3 separate regions of the Homo sapiens genome follow, and regions 1 and 3 are each linked to region 2. Evidence: promoter capture Hi-C in human tissues and cell types (Jung and others, 2019). All regions are on one chromosome and are shown on one strand. The core of a region is centred on a gene start or on the middle of the fragment in contact, and the rest is flanking DNA. Distances in the headings are between cores, read along the strand shown.

What was found. Contacts are between HindIII fragments. The study calls those that stand out against the background at their distance.
Region 1: a fragment that was not itself captured here is called in contact with the fragment with the promoter of FERMT2 in region 2 in 2 of the 25 tissues and cell types used here (aorta and liver).
Region 3: a fragment that was not itself captured here is called in contact with the fragment with the promoter of FERMT2 in region 2 in 1 of the 25 tissues and cell types used here (stomach).

Annotation. Positions count from the first base shown.
Region 1 is chr14:52,915,976-52,919,627 of GRCh38, forward strand. It overlaps FERMT2 (FERM domain containing kindlin 2), which reads right to left. Exons shown (of 15, transcript NM_006832.3): 3 at 3,148-3,381. The region is part of intron 2 of LOC105370500 (a long non-coding RNA gene); the gene reads left to right. Among named protein-coding and RNA genes, the nearest start is that of FERMT2, 33 kb to the right of the region's middle. RefSeq lists an enhancer at 2,644-2,753. The HindIII fragment of the contact is 5,591 bases long and covers 1-3,652 here.
Region 2 is chr14:52,948,962-52,952,918 of GRCh38, forward strand. It overlaps FERMT2 (FERM domain containing kindlin 2), which reads right to left and starts at 2,089. Exons shown (of 15, transcript NM_006832.3): 1 at 1,960-2,089; 2 at 1,451-1,616. The coding sequence starts at 1,607. RefSeq lists a silencer at 1,858-2,067 and an enhancer at 2,788-3,366. The HindIII fragment of the contact is 21,614 bases long and covers 1-3,957 here.
Region 3 is chr14:52,899,718-52,903,393 of GRCh38, forward strand. The region is part of intron 3 of FERMT2 (FERM domain containing kindlin 2); the gene reads right to left. All of the region lies in intron 2 of LOC105370500 (a long non-coding RNA gene), which reads left to right. Among named protein-coding and RNA genes, the nearest start is that of FERMT2, 49 kb to the right of the region's middle. The HindIII fragment of the contact is 5,006 bases long and covers 1-3,676 here.

The DNA.
Region 1 (3,652 bases), core at 538-3,037, 33 kb before region 2:
ACCAAGATATCGTTTGGTGAGTGGATAAACAAGCTGTGACACATCCAGACGATGGAATACTATTTAGCACTAAAAAGAAATGAGCTGGCTGGGCTTGGTGGTTCACACCTGTAATCCCAGCACTTTGGGAGGCGGAGGTGGGTGGATCGCCTGAGGTCAGGAGTTCGAGACCAGCCTGGCCAACATGATGAAACCCCATCTATACTAAAAATACAAAAATTAGCCCGGTTTGGTGGCAGGTGCCTGTAATCCCAGCTACTTGGGAGGCTGAGGCAGAAGAATTGCTTGAACCCGGGAAGTGGAGGTTGCAGTGAGCCAAAATCACGCCATTGCATTCCAGCCTGGGCAACAGAGCGAGACTCGTCTCAAAAAAAAAAGAAGAAGAAAAGAAAAAAAAAAGAAATAAGCTATCAAGCCACAAAAAAACATGGAGGAAACTTAAATGCCTATTACGAGGTGAAAGAAACCAATATGAAAAGGCTACATACTGTATGAGTCCAAACATATGATATTCTGGAAAGGGCAAAACTAGGTAAAAGGATGAGTGGTGGTGATGAGGAGAGAGGGATGAATAGGCAGAGCACAGAAGATTTTTAGGACAGTCAAACTATTCTGTACAATACCACAACAGTAGATACACGAGTATATATTTTTCCAAGCCCACAGCATGTACAACACCAGAAGTGAACCCTAACATAAACTACTGTCACTGAGTGATAATGGTATGTCAAGGTAGGTTCACCAGTTACAATAAATGTACCATTCTGGTACAGACTTTGAGAGTAGGGAAGGTTGTGCATGTGTGAGGACAGAGGGTATGTGGGAATTCTCTGTACTTTTGCTCAACTTTGCTGTGAACCTACAACTCCTGTAAAAACTACAGTTTATTAATTTCTCAAAAATGGACAAATGATATAAACAATTAAAAAAAGGAACTTAGATGTCCAATAATGATTTAAAAACATATTTAGCTTTGTAAACTAAAACAAAATACTGTCTTTTTCTCTTGGAAACAAAAACAACAAAACAGACCATAATCAAGTGTTAGTGAGGATTTGTGGCAACGGGTTTTCATACATTGCTAGTTGGAATATAAACTGGTATAACCAACTGGGAGACAATTTGACAGTACTCTGAAATGAATTATGTATATATTTAAAACAGCAATTTTACTTCTACTTCTAGGTGGATACTCGAGAGAAATTCTTGCACACACGTACAAAACTTAGTAAGAAAATACCTACGTGGTAATGGCAATAACATATACAGTTTATGGATATATACACACAGAGATACGTGTGTGTGTGTGTGTGTGTGTGTATGTGTGTGTCTGTGTATTTTACAGTACTGGATACACACTGAACTTATGATAGTAGTTGCTTTGTAAAGGGAAGTTAGGATAATGAGACTCAAGAATTTTACCAGTATTACTTTGACTTCAAGTCATATTTGTCATTTGACAAAATGACAAAATATCAACAATTATTAATTCCAGATAATGGGAATTTGGTATTCTTTGTATTTTTCTCTATTTTAATAATAATAATAAAAACCCTGTTTCACTTTAAAAAAAATTTCAAGGGCATTAGATCAAAAAGGCAATGTGAATCTACCTGTATCTCCCCTCCTACATCCCGAATCCCCTGAAATGACAGCAAAAGATATTTAAAAATTGTAGGCGGGGAGGGAAGATGAACATCCATAACAGTGCTAGGAGACAGGAAACTACAGTAAGAGGGTAAATAATGAGTGATTCTTGAAGACAGAAAAAAGTTGGTATTGGTTTAAGGGAAGCCACAGCCCAAACTAAACACAAGAAATGGGTGAGGATTCAGACTCCTCCAAGCTCCAAGCCTACAGGCATAAGCAGCAGGCAGGGCTCTGGGTTAAGAGGTAGGTAGTCTCAGCACCTCCATACTGTCCACAGGTCAGTGCTTGAGGCATTGTACAGGAGCAGCATTTGCCCACAGGCTCTAGCAGTGAGTGTGGGTGCTGACACCAGCAAGGAAGATTGGGTACTCTGGCGCTAGCCCAACTAAAATATTTTCAAATGTTTTCAGCAATATTTAAAACATTTGAAAATGTTGCAGCATTTGCTCTAAGAGTGAAGCAACCTAACTGATCATTAACAGGGAAATGTGGTTATAAATTATACTTGATCTTAGCCAAAAAGGCCAAGAAGTAATTGGATGTAAATTAATAGTACGTCTATACTCTGAATTACAGCTTAAAAGAATGTATAACACATAGAAAGATCTCTAAGACATTACTAAGTTTAAAAAATACATATAAAATGCTCCTATTTATTAAAAAAAATCCGATATGTATGGACAAATAAATGCATAGAAAATCACCAAACTGTCAAGAATGATTACTTAGGGGAAGGGGGAGCTTACTATGTATGTCTATATTCATTGATTCTTTTACAACAGAGTGTATTTATAAATTACTAGTATAATTTAAAAATTTAACATGAATAAAAAACTGCAGTACTTTATTTGGAATTAAAATATGAGAAGTCACTAAATGTATCTTTAACCAAGAATTTCTCAAATAGGAAAAAATACAGCAGAGTTCTGCACTAGTGGTAGTGACAGCAGTTCACATTTTCTCAGATGGTTGAATACTTCCTGTCATATGACATAACTGGGTCAGCCAAAGTAACCCACATCTCATTTCAGAATGCATAAATAGAAATACTACAGAGATGTTCAAATTGTAGACTGGTGAAGGAAGACAACACTCATAGTCATTTCCTTAGGAGCTGTGTCAGGCCTTCAATGGAGGAAGTGACACAATCTGCCTGAATCACTAAAATCAAATAGTGACTTATGTGAAGGAAACATTGCAAAGCCATGTATGTTCCCCTGAAAATAGTGCCTGTTCCTTTAACCTCTCCATAAAAATAAAGTATTAAATATCAGATACAATTCTAGTAAGGAAAGAATCTCTACTAGGTTCTTCCTGTTCCACCTTAACCCAGCATTTATCTTAATATAAAAACTTTAATGAAGTAGAAATTTCACACACATACATATATACAGATAGTTCAGCCCATGCCCCATCCCTTGGGATAAGCTATGTCAGTCATCGGTCATCTGTACATCACATAACTCGTATTTTAAGAAGAATTTATGTAATACTTACTAAAAGTCTTACAGATGTCAGAAACAGCTTTGAAGACTCTATCAGAGAAATTCACTTTCACCTTCACATACTTCATGTTGGGAAGCTGCAGGCGGAGCAGTTTGTGCTGAGGGGTGAACTGAAGCTTAGCATCTGCCTGAATACCATACTTATCTAAGGTCCAATGTGTCTTCAGAAGCCAAGTTCTCTTCTTTTCCCACCAGAGAGCATGGTCAGACCAATCTTTTTTTACATCTATAAAAAACAAACAATAAACAAATCACTTAAAAATCACCAAGGTGATTTTGAGAAATTAAAAGCAGAAAACTAGATAATTGGGTATTTAACAGCAATAATTAACTACTAAGTTACTGTTATGTGACAGGTACAAAAGAAACATTAACAGCTGAGAAAACACGCTCTGTCCTGAAAAGCCAGTACACAAGGCAGCTGAGGCAGAATATATAGGGCAACTAAGAATGTTTGAGTCAACTACAAAATGGGACACATGGATGACAGAGAAAGT
Region 2 (3,957 bases), core at 839-3,338:
CCAGAGCTGGACAAAAAAGGTTCATACATATTTTGCAAACAGTGACTGATTTATTCAAATCAGATAAAAATACTGTTAACTGCCAGTTAAATGGTTAATCAATACAGCAAAATCTAATTTTCACTGGGCTACCTAGGAGGATTTTCTTTCCTGAGCTGTATCTCAGGGAGCCAAACAATGCAGTCTTAAGGAAGAGGCTACCTTGTAAGGAGCTTCACTTTGGTCCTTCAATAATAAAACTTCCTGCAGGGGTACAAAGCAGGTCCACCCAAATGAATCCTGCCTTATTTTGCAAAATGCATCAGAGTGCTATTTCAGTACCTTTACATACAATAATCCTTTGGTAAGAAATAGATTTCCTGACAAATAAGCACTTCTCTACTTTCCCAGTGTAGCTTGAAAACGAATGCTGTGTTTAAAAAAAAAAAGAAAAAAAAAAAGACGAAAAAAACCCCCAGAAAGTCCCCAACCCCCCTTCACCAAAACAAAAAACAATTCCAGCCTAAAAAGACAATGCCACACAGATAATCATCTTATCACAACTGTATTATGTACAAAAGGCTCTTTAAAGCTCAGGAAGATAGTTCTCTGAGCATTTCTCTTATGATCAAATCATCTATTTAGCTGACTCTTCCAGATGAAAATGGTTTCATTCATCACAAAAATGTGTACTGCACACTCTTCACACACTTCATACTGTAAGATACCTTATTATTTTAAATCGGATATCAATCCAATACATATTTGTACTCAAGCAAACACCGTCAACCTCAAATTAGTTTAACAAAGTCTGCTTTTTAACACAAAGTTCTTTCCTTGGCTTGTTATTAATATAAAACCGAACGCTCGAAACGGCTTACATCGAGCATGGACTATGGATACCAAGTTTGTCAAGCACTGCCCCACCCCTAGTAAGAGTGGATGACTGGAACATTTTAATGCACTCCACCACGTAGAACAGCCACAGAAACTTCACACTGGCGCCAGTAGTTGCACATTTTCCAGCACAGATTTTTCTTAAATGGATTTTGCATCATTCTCTATACCAAACGTCACTAACATTCAGGTATGCTGAAGACATAGATAACCACGGACACTGTAATATCACCCTCCCAACACACTTTCCTCATTCTTTTATCGTTCTGTCAGTAAATGTTAAGAATTAACGAGTTCCCCGGCACACATCCCCCGTCCCGCGTAACTACGCAATTAAGGTTATAATTGGGAGGCTCGAATCATTACATATGAAAATTCAGAGAATAGCAAAACAAAATAAGACGCAAAGGGGAACAGGTCTATCTGCTTAAATACTGAAAGATTTTACATCTCCAAAAAGCATTTGCGAGATGCCAAGATTTCTCAAATGGGCCCCTCCCCCGTCGTGAGCCTCTTTCCTCCCCCTACCAATTCTGGGAAGTCATTAGTTGGACGCGGCTGGGATGCTACTCACCGAGTTTCTCCACCAGCTTAAGCATCACGCCTCCAATGTGCACCTCGCCGGTCACTCTCAGGGTGACATCGCGGTTCAGGTCCGTCACATGGACACTCAGTTCCCACGTCCCGTCCGCGTAGCAGCCATCTGGCATCCTTATCCCGTCCAGAGCCATGGCTCCTTCCTGCGAGCGCGGAGGAAATGGCTCTCGTAAGCGTCACTCCCCCAAAGAAAGGCGAATCCCACCGAATTCGCAGCGCCGGCCACGGGCTGGGAGGTGGTGGAGGACCCGGGGCTTTCGGCAGAAACTCGGGAGGGCGGCGGCGGCCGGGGCTGCGGGAGGACCCTACGCCCCGCTCGCCCCGCAGCGTTCCTCGGTCCCGGCGCCGCCCGCCCCACACCGTCCCCGCCTAGCGGACCGCGGAGGGCTTCACCTGCCGGCCGGCCCCGAGACACAGCGCGGGCTGACTCCCCGTTCCCCTCCCCGCCGCGCCCCCTCGGGTCCCGGCGGGGTCCCGCTCCCTCACCGCGCGCTCCTAGCGCTCCGGGCCCGGGACTCGCGCGGCAACAGGCGAGGGGCTGGAGGCTCGCGGGGCGGCGGTGTCCGCGTCCGGTTCCTCGGCTGGCGAAGCGCTGCCTGTGGCCGGAGCGGCTAATGGAGTCCCGTCGTCGCGGCCCCTCGCCTGGCTCCCCGCGCTCCACCCTCTCCCCGCCCCCTCTGTCCGAGCCTGGCTGGGCTGGGCGCGCTGGCTCCCTCCTTCGCCGCCCGCAGAGCTGCCCTGAGCGGGTCCGGCCGGCCTCGCCTCTGCCCCCGCCCTCCCGGCGCCGCGCTCGGGGGAGGGGGCTGCGGGTCCCGGGCGGGGCGGGGCGGCGTGGGGCGGGGCGGCGCGGGGGTGGCGGGGGGCGCGGCGGGGCGGCAATCTCGGCCCCGCGGAGCGCTGCCCTTTTATGGAAATGAAGGACCCGGCTCAGGAATTGAATCCAACATCCGGGCTCTAGGCGGCGGGCCCTGAGGAGGGGGAGCGGGGGAGCGCGGGCGGCCTTTCCCGGGGCGCTGGTGGCCGGCGGGGCGTCTAGAGCTCAGGCTGGACTGGGGCCCCCGCGGCGTGTGTCCGCGCTGGCAGCAGGGAGAGGGGGCTTGTCCGTGAGAAACGGCCCCAGGAAATTCCCAGGGCAAGGTCGTTTTCGGAGAACAAAGTCCTCTCGCCCCCTCCCCACGCCTGCAGCGAGACAAAAAGCCTCAGGGAGGTGAGAGGTGCCGCACCCCGGGAGCTGGAGAGAGGAGTCTGGGACGGAGAAACTTTAAAAAGTAAATGCCCAAACCAACTCCTTGAATGTCCTACAAAAGAATAAGAAAACCCCGAGGGAGGTGAACCACAAAAATTGCTTTGCAAGCAATGTCCGGCACCATCAGCAACTCCTACTGGACTCCCAGGAGTTTGCAAGCGTTCTTAACCCCTTCGGACGCTCCAGCCAGATGCCAGTCAAACAGATGATGCTCTTGCCTGAGGGGAAAGGAAAGACACAACCTAGTGCCACAGGTTTTACTCAGAAACTGTTTCCCCAGCTTCTCCAGCTCTTTGTACTTATTTGTGTGTTTTTATATGCAAGTTAGAACTAACAGTCTATTAAAGCTGTTAGATGGAGATACATGTTCCATCCCACCCTCAGCCACACCTTGGATTTTAATACTTCTGGAACGGTGCCTGCAGGTACCAGGAAGAGCTAAACAACTTCACCTGTTGAAGACTGGCTAGTGATGGGGAACGGTCCTCCTGCTTCCCGCTTTTGTTTCCACTTCCCCCATTAACTGTTGTACTCTGTTGAGGGAACTCCTTTCAGAAACAGCAAACCAGAGAAACTGCCTCGCTAGCAAATTCATGGGCTCAGAAAATAAACGTCAAGAAGGCTCAGATTAAAATACCTTTTAAAGATAAAAGACTCCAGTTCGCAGTCTCATAATCTTGTCGAATTGTCTCAAACGCTTGGAAAAGGAACTCGCTAGGCAGATAACCTTTTGTTCATTAACATTACTGGGAAACAAGATGAGAGGCCTCAAGAAAGGGGTGGAACTCAGAAAGGAGTGAAAGCAGCAAAATTTAGTCAGATGCCAAAGGCTTGGCAGAAAAAAAAATAGGGAAAACCACTACAGTGTTTTTAGCTAGTTATCATGGAGAAATTGATGCCTTCAGTCTCTTATCTGTCTACTCTCCAATATTTCTACTCGTGGACGTTCCAAATAGTTCACTTGAAAGCAATATGAATGTCCGGAGATGAGGGAGTTTATGTAAATTATGGGGTTGAAAATATACAGGAAAATGTTTTTAATAAATTAAGGAATTGCTTGTTAGGGCACAAAACTGCAGAACTGGATATGCAGCTATAAAATTAAGAGCTTATTTACGTTAAATGTTCAGAGAAAAAGACTGTAAGGAAATACAGCAAAATGTTAAGAAGCTCTCTGGGTCTTGAGATCACGGAAGTTTTTTCTTTCTTTTATTCTTTATTTTCTGCCAACTCAAAAA
Region 3 (3,676 bases), core at 184-2,683, 50 kb before region 2:
TTTGCATTTCATTACAACAATAACAAAGTAAACCTAACTCTCCACATTAAGATACTGATCATTTCACTGACATGAGAATTTAGGACTTACTGATTTACTGTATGCCTTGTATCAAGAAGTAATTAACAGACTTAGAAATCTGTATAAGATTTCTAAATGTGTAAGAGTGGGGCTGGAGAAGAACATAAGTAAGTAAACAAGATTTATACCAAAATAAAACATACCCAGAGGACTGTGAGACATGAAAACTTTAAAATAGCCATACCAAAATACTATACTAATTTATGCTCAATTTTACATTTCAATAAGGATAAGCTAGCATTTATGAGGCACTACACAAAGCAATGCTCCAGAACCTCTATAACAGAATATATAGCAATGTTTTTTTTTGTTTGTTTGTTTGTTTTAAAGATAGGGGCTCACTGTCACCCAGGCTGGAATGAAGTAGTGTTAGTGTGCTCACAGGTCACAGCAGCCTCGACTTCCCAGGCTCAGGCAATCCTCCTGCCTCAGCCTCCCAAAATACTGGGAATGCAGCAGGCCTGAGCCACTACACCCAGTGATAGCAACGAAATTTAATGTTCATTATAATTAGCATGTTATCAAACAGAAGATGAATCTAGTCTAATCTACACAGGCTATATAAATACTATACATATAAAAAAGCATGAGGGTGAGGGGAATTGAGAAACTGAGGTAAAGAAGGGTTCTCAGGGAAGATAAAGCGTTTCTGGTTAAAAAAGTATATTGAATACGTGCATTTATTTTCACTCCTTTCAAAATCACGTAAAAAATAAAGAAAACATAAACCTATAAGGGCCCCCAAAATGGAAGAAAATATGGGATAAGAAATCTCAGAAAAGTTTTGGGAAGCAGAAGTCAGATGGAACAGTAACTTTGTAAACTGGAGAAATATAAAACCAAGGTGTTTGTAGAAGGAGGTACCAATGGGTAACACCCTGATTCACTGTTCTAATCATCAAACTGAGGCACAGAAAACAGATAGACTACCTGAAAAAATTTAGTCCGCCCCAGCATCCCTTTCCTGTTCCATTACTGAATTAAACTCAGGTAACCTACTCCACAGACACACACCCTTTAGGATCCTTTACAAACAGAACCTGAATAGCCCTAGGGAAAAGATCTTTTAGATAGTGATGTTTGAAAAAGCTTGCTCAATATGTCTAAATACCTTACAGAGGGATGATGAGCTAAACTCCACCCAATATAGAGCTTCCTATTAGGTACTGATATTGCCCCAGGCCAGGCGCAGTGGCTCATGCCTGTAATCCTAGCACTTTGGGAGGCCGAGGCGGGCGGATCACGAAATCAGGAGATGGAGACCATCCTGACTAACGTGGTGAAACCCCGGTCTCTACTAAAAATACAAAAAAAAAAAAAAAAAAAAAAAAAATTAGCTGGGCGTTGTGGCGGGCGCCTGTAGTCCCAGCTACTCCGGAGGCTGAGGCAGGAGAATGGCTTGAACCCGGGAGGCGGAGCTTGCAGTGAGCCGAGATCGCGCCACTGCACTCCAGCCTAGGCGACAGAGCGAGACTCTGTCTCAAAAAAAAAAAAAAAAAAAAGCCCCAGCATTAAACATAGGAACAGCCAGCCAATGATTACTAGACACTTGAGAAAGGCTTCTGGGGTGGGCAGAATACTGAAGTTTAATATCCCTACCCATGGTTACACAAACACCAATCTAGGTACTGCTGTGAGGAGTTTTTGCAAATGAATTAAGATCACTTATCAAATGATTTTAGGGAGATTATCCTGGGTTATCTGGGTGAGCCCAACGTAATCACATGAGGCCTCCAGCACAGAAGAGGCAGGAAGAAGAGAGATGAGACAGAAGGAGTGGTCAGATAAATTCAGACAGAAGACCTTGACTTGCTGTTACTGGCTTTGAAGATAGAGGAAGGGGGCAACAAGCAATGTGGAGAGCCTCTAGGAGCTGAGAATGACCCCTAGCAGACAAGCCAGAGGGAATCTTAGTCTTACAATCACAAAGAACCAAATTCTACCAAGCAAAATTCATTCTCACAGCCTCCAGGAAGGAACGCAGCCCTGCTGACACCTTAACTTCAGCCACTTAAGAGTCTATAGAGGACACAGGTGAGCCACGTGTACACACCTTTAACCTACAGTGACTGTGAGATAAATTCGTGTTGTTTCAGGCTGCTAAATTTATGGTAATTTGTTATGGCAGCAATGCAACACCAACAAACCTTCTAACAGGAAAGACAGAGACCAAACAAAAAGAAAAATAACTTATGAGAAACAGACACAATGCAGACTACAGAGAACAAAACACAACGTGCTTAATGAAGAGGCTGAGAAAAAGACAATGACATCTAGAAGAGATAAACAGGATAATATAAAAAACAATGAGAGGCCGGGCACGGTGGCTTACGCCTGTAATCCCAGCACTTTGGGAGGCCGAGGTGGGTGGATCACTTGAGGTCAGGAATTCAAGATCAGCCTGGCCAACATGGTGAAACCCTGTCTCTACTAAAAATACAAAAATTAGCTGGGCATGATGGCGTGCATCTGTAGTCCCAGTTACTCAGGAGGCTGAGGCAGGAGAATTGCTTGAACCTAGGAGGCGGAGGTTGCAGTGAGCCGAGATTGCACCATTGCACTTCAGCTTGGGCGACAACAGCAAAACTCTGTCTCAAAACAAAAACAAAAAAAAAAGAGAGAGAGAGATTAAGAGACTTTAGATATTAACAACAGAGGGGGAAGGGTCCTTTCCATTATTTTCACTATTCTGTTGAAGTATAACTTATATAAAGTCCACAAATCTTAAATATATTTAAGAATACCTATATAACAAACATCCAGATAGAAATATAAAACACTGAAAACTGGCCAGACACAGTGTCTCATGCCTGTAATCCCAGCACTTTGGGAGGCCGAGGCGGGTGGATTACCCAAAGTCAGGAATTCGAGACCAGCCTGGGCAACATGGTGAAACCCCATCTCTACTAAAAATATAAAAATGAGCCAGGCATGGTTGTGAGTGCCTGTAATCCCAGCTACTTGGGAGGCTGAGGCAGGAGAATCACTTGAACCCAGGAGGTGGAGGCTGCAGTGAGCTGGGGTCACACCACTGTACTCCAGCCTGGGTGGCTGAGCAAGACTCCGTCTCAAAAAAAAAAAAAAAAAAAAAAACCCCAAAACACTGAAAATTAAAATGTGATAGCCACCAAAAAAAAAAAAAAAATCCAATATAAAGTCAAGCAAGTGGATCGATCCAAGAACAATGTCTGACTAACAGTAACAGCGAGAACAGAGAAAACAAAGAGGAGGAAATTACCAAGGAAATAATATTATGAAACAACTCTGCATAAATACAAGAAATATCCCCTGGTCAGAAGTCTCCATCACAATGAATGAAAATAAAACCCTAACCAGGCAGGGCACATTGTTACAAAATTTCAAAATGGCAGGGAAAAGAAAAGATCCTAAAAGTTTCCAGTGAGAAAAGGCAGTCTACAAAGAAGATTAAAAATAAAAATCAAGAACACTATTAGGAGGCCAGGCATGGTGACTCATGCCTGTAATCTCAGCACTTTGGGAGACGAAGGTGGGAGGGCTGCTTGAGGTCAGGAGCTCAAGACCAGTCTAGGCAACATAGTGATACCCCATCTCTACAAAAAATTTAAAAATTAGG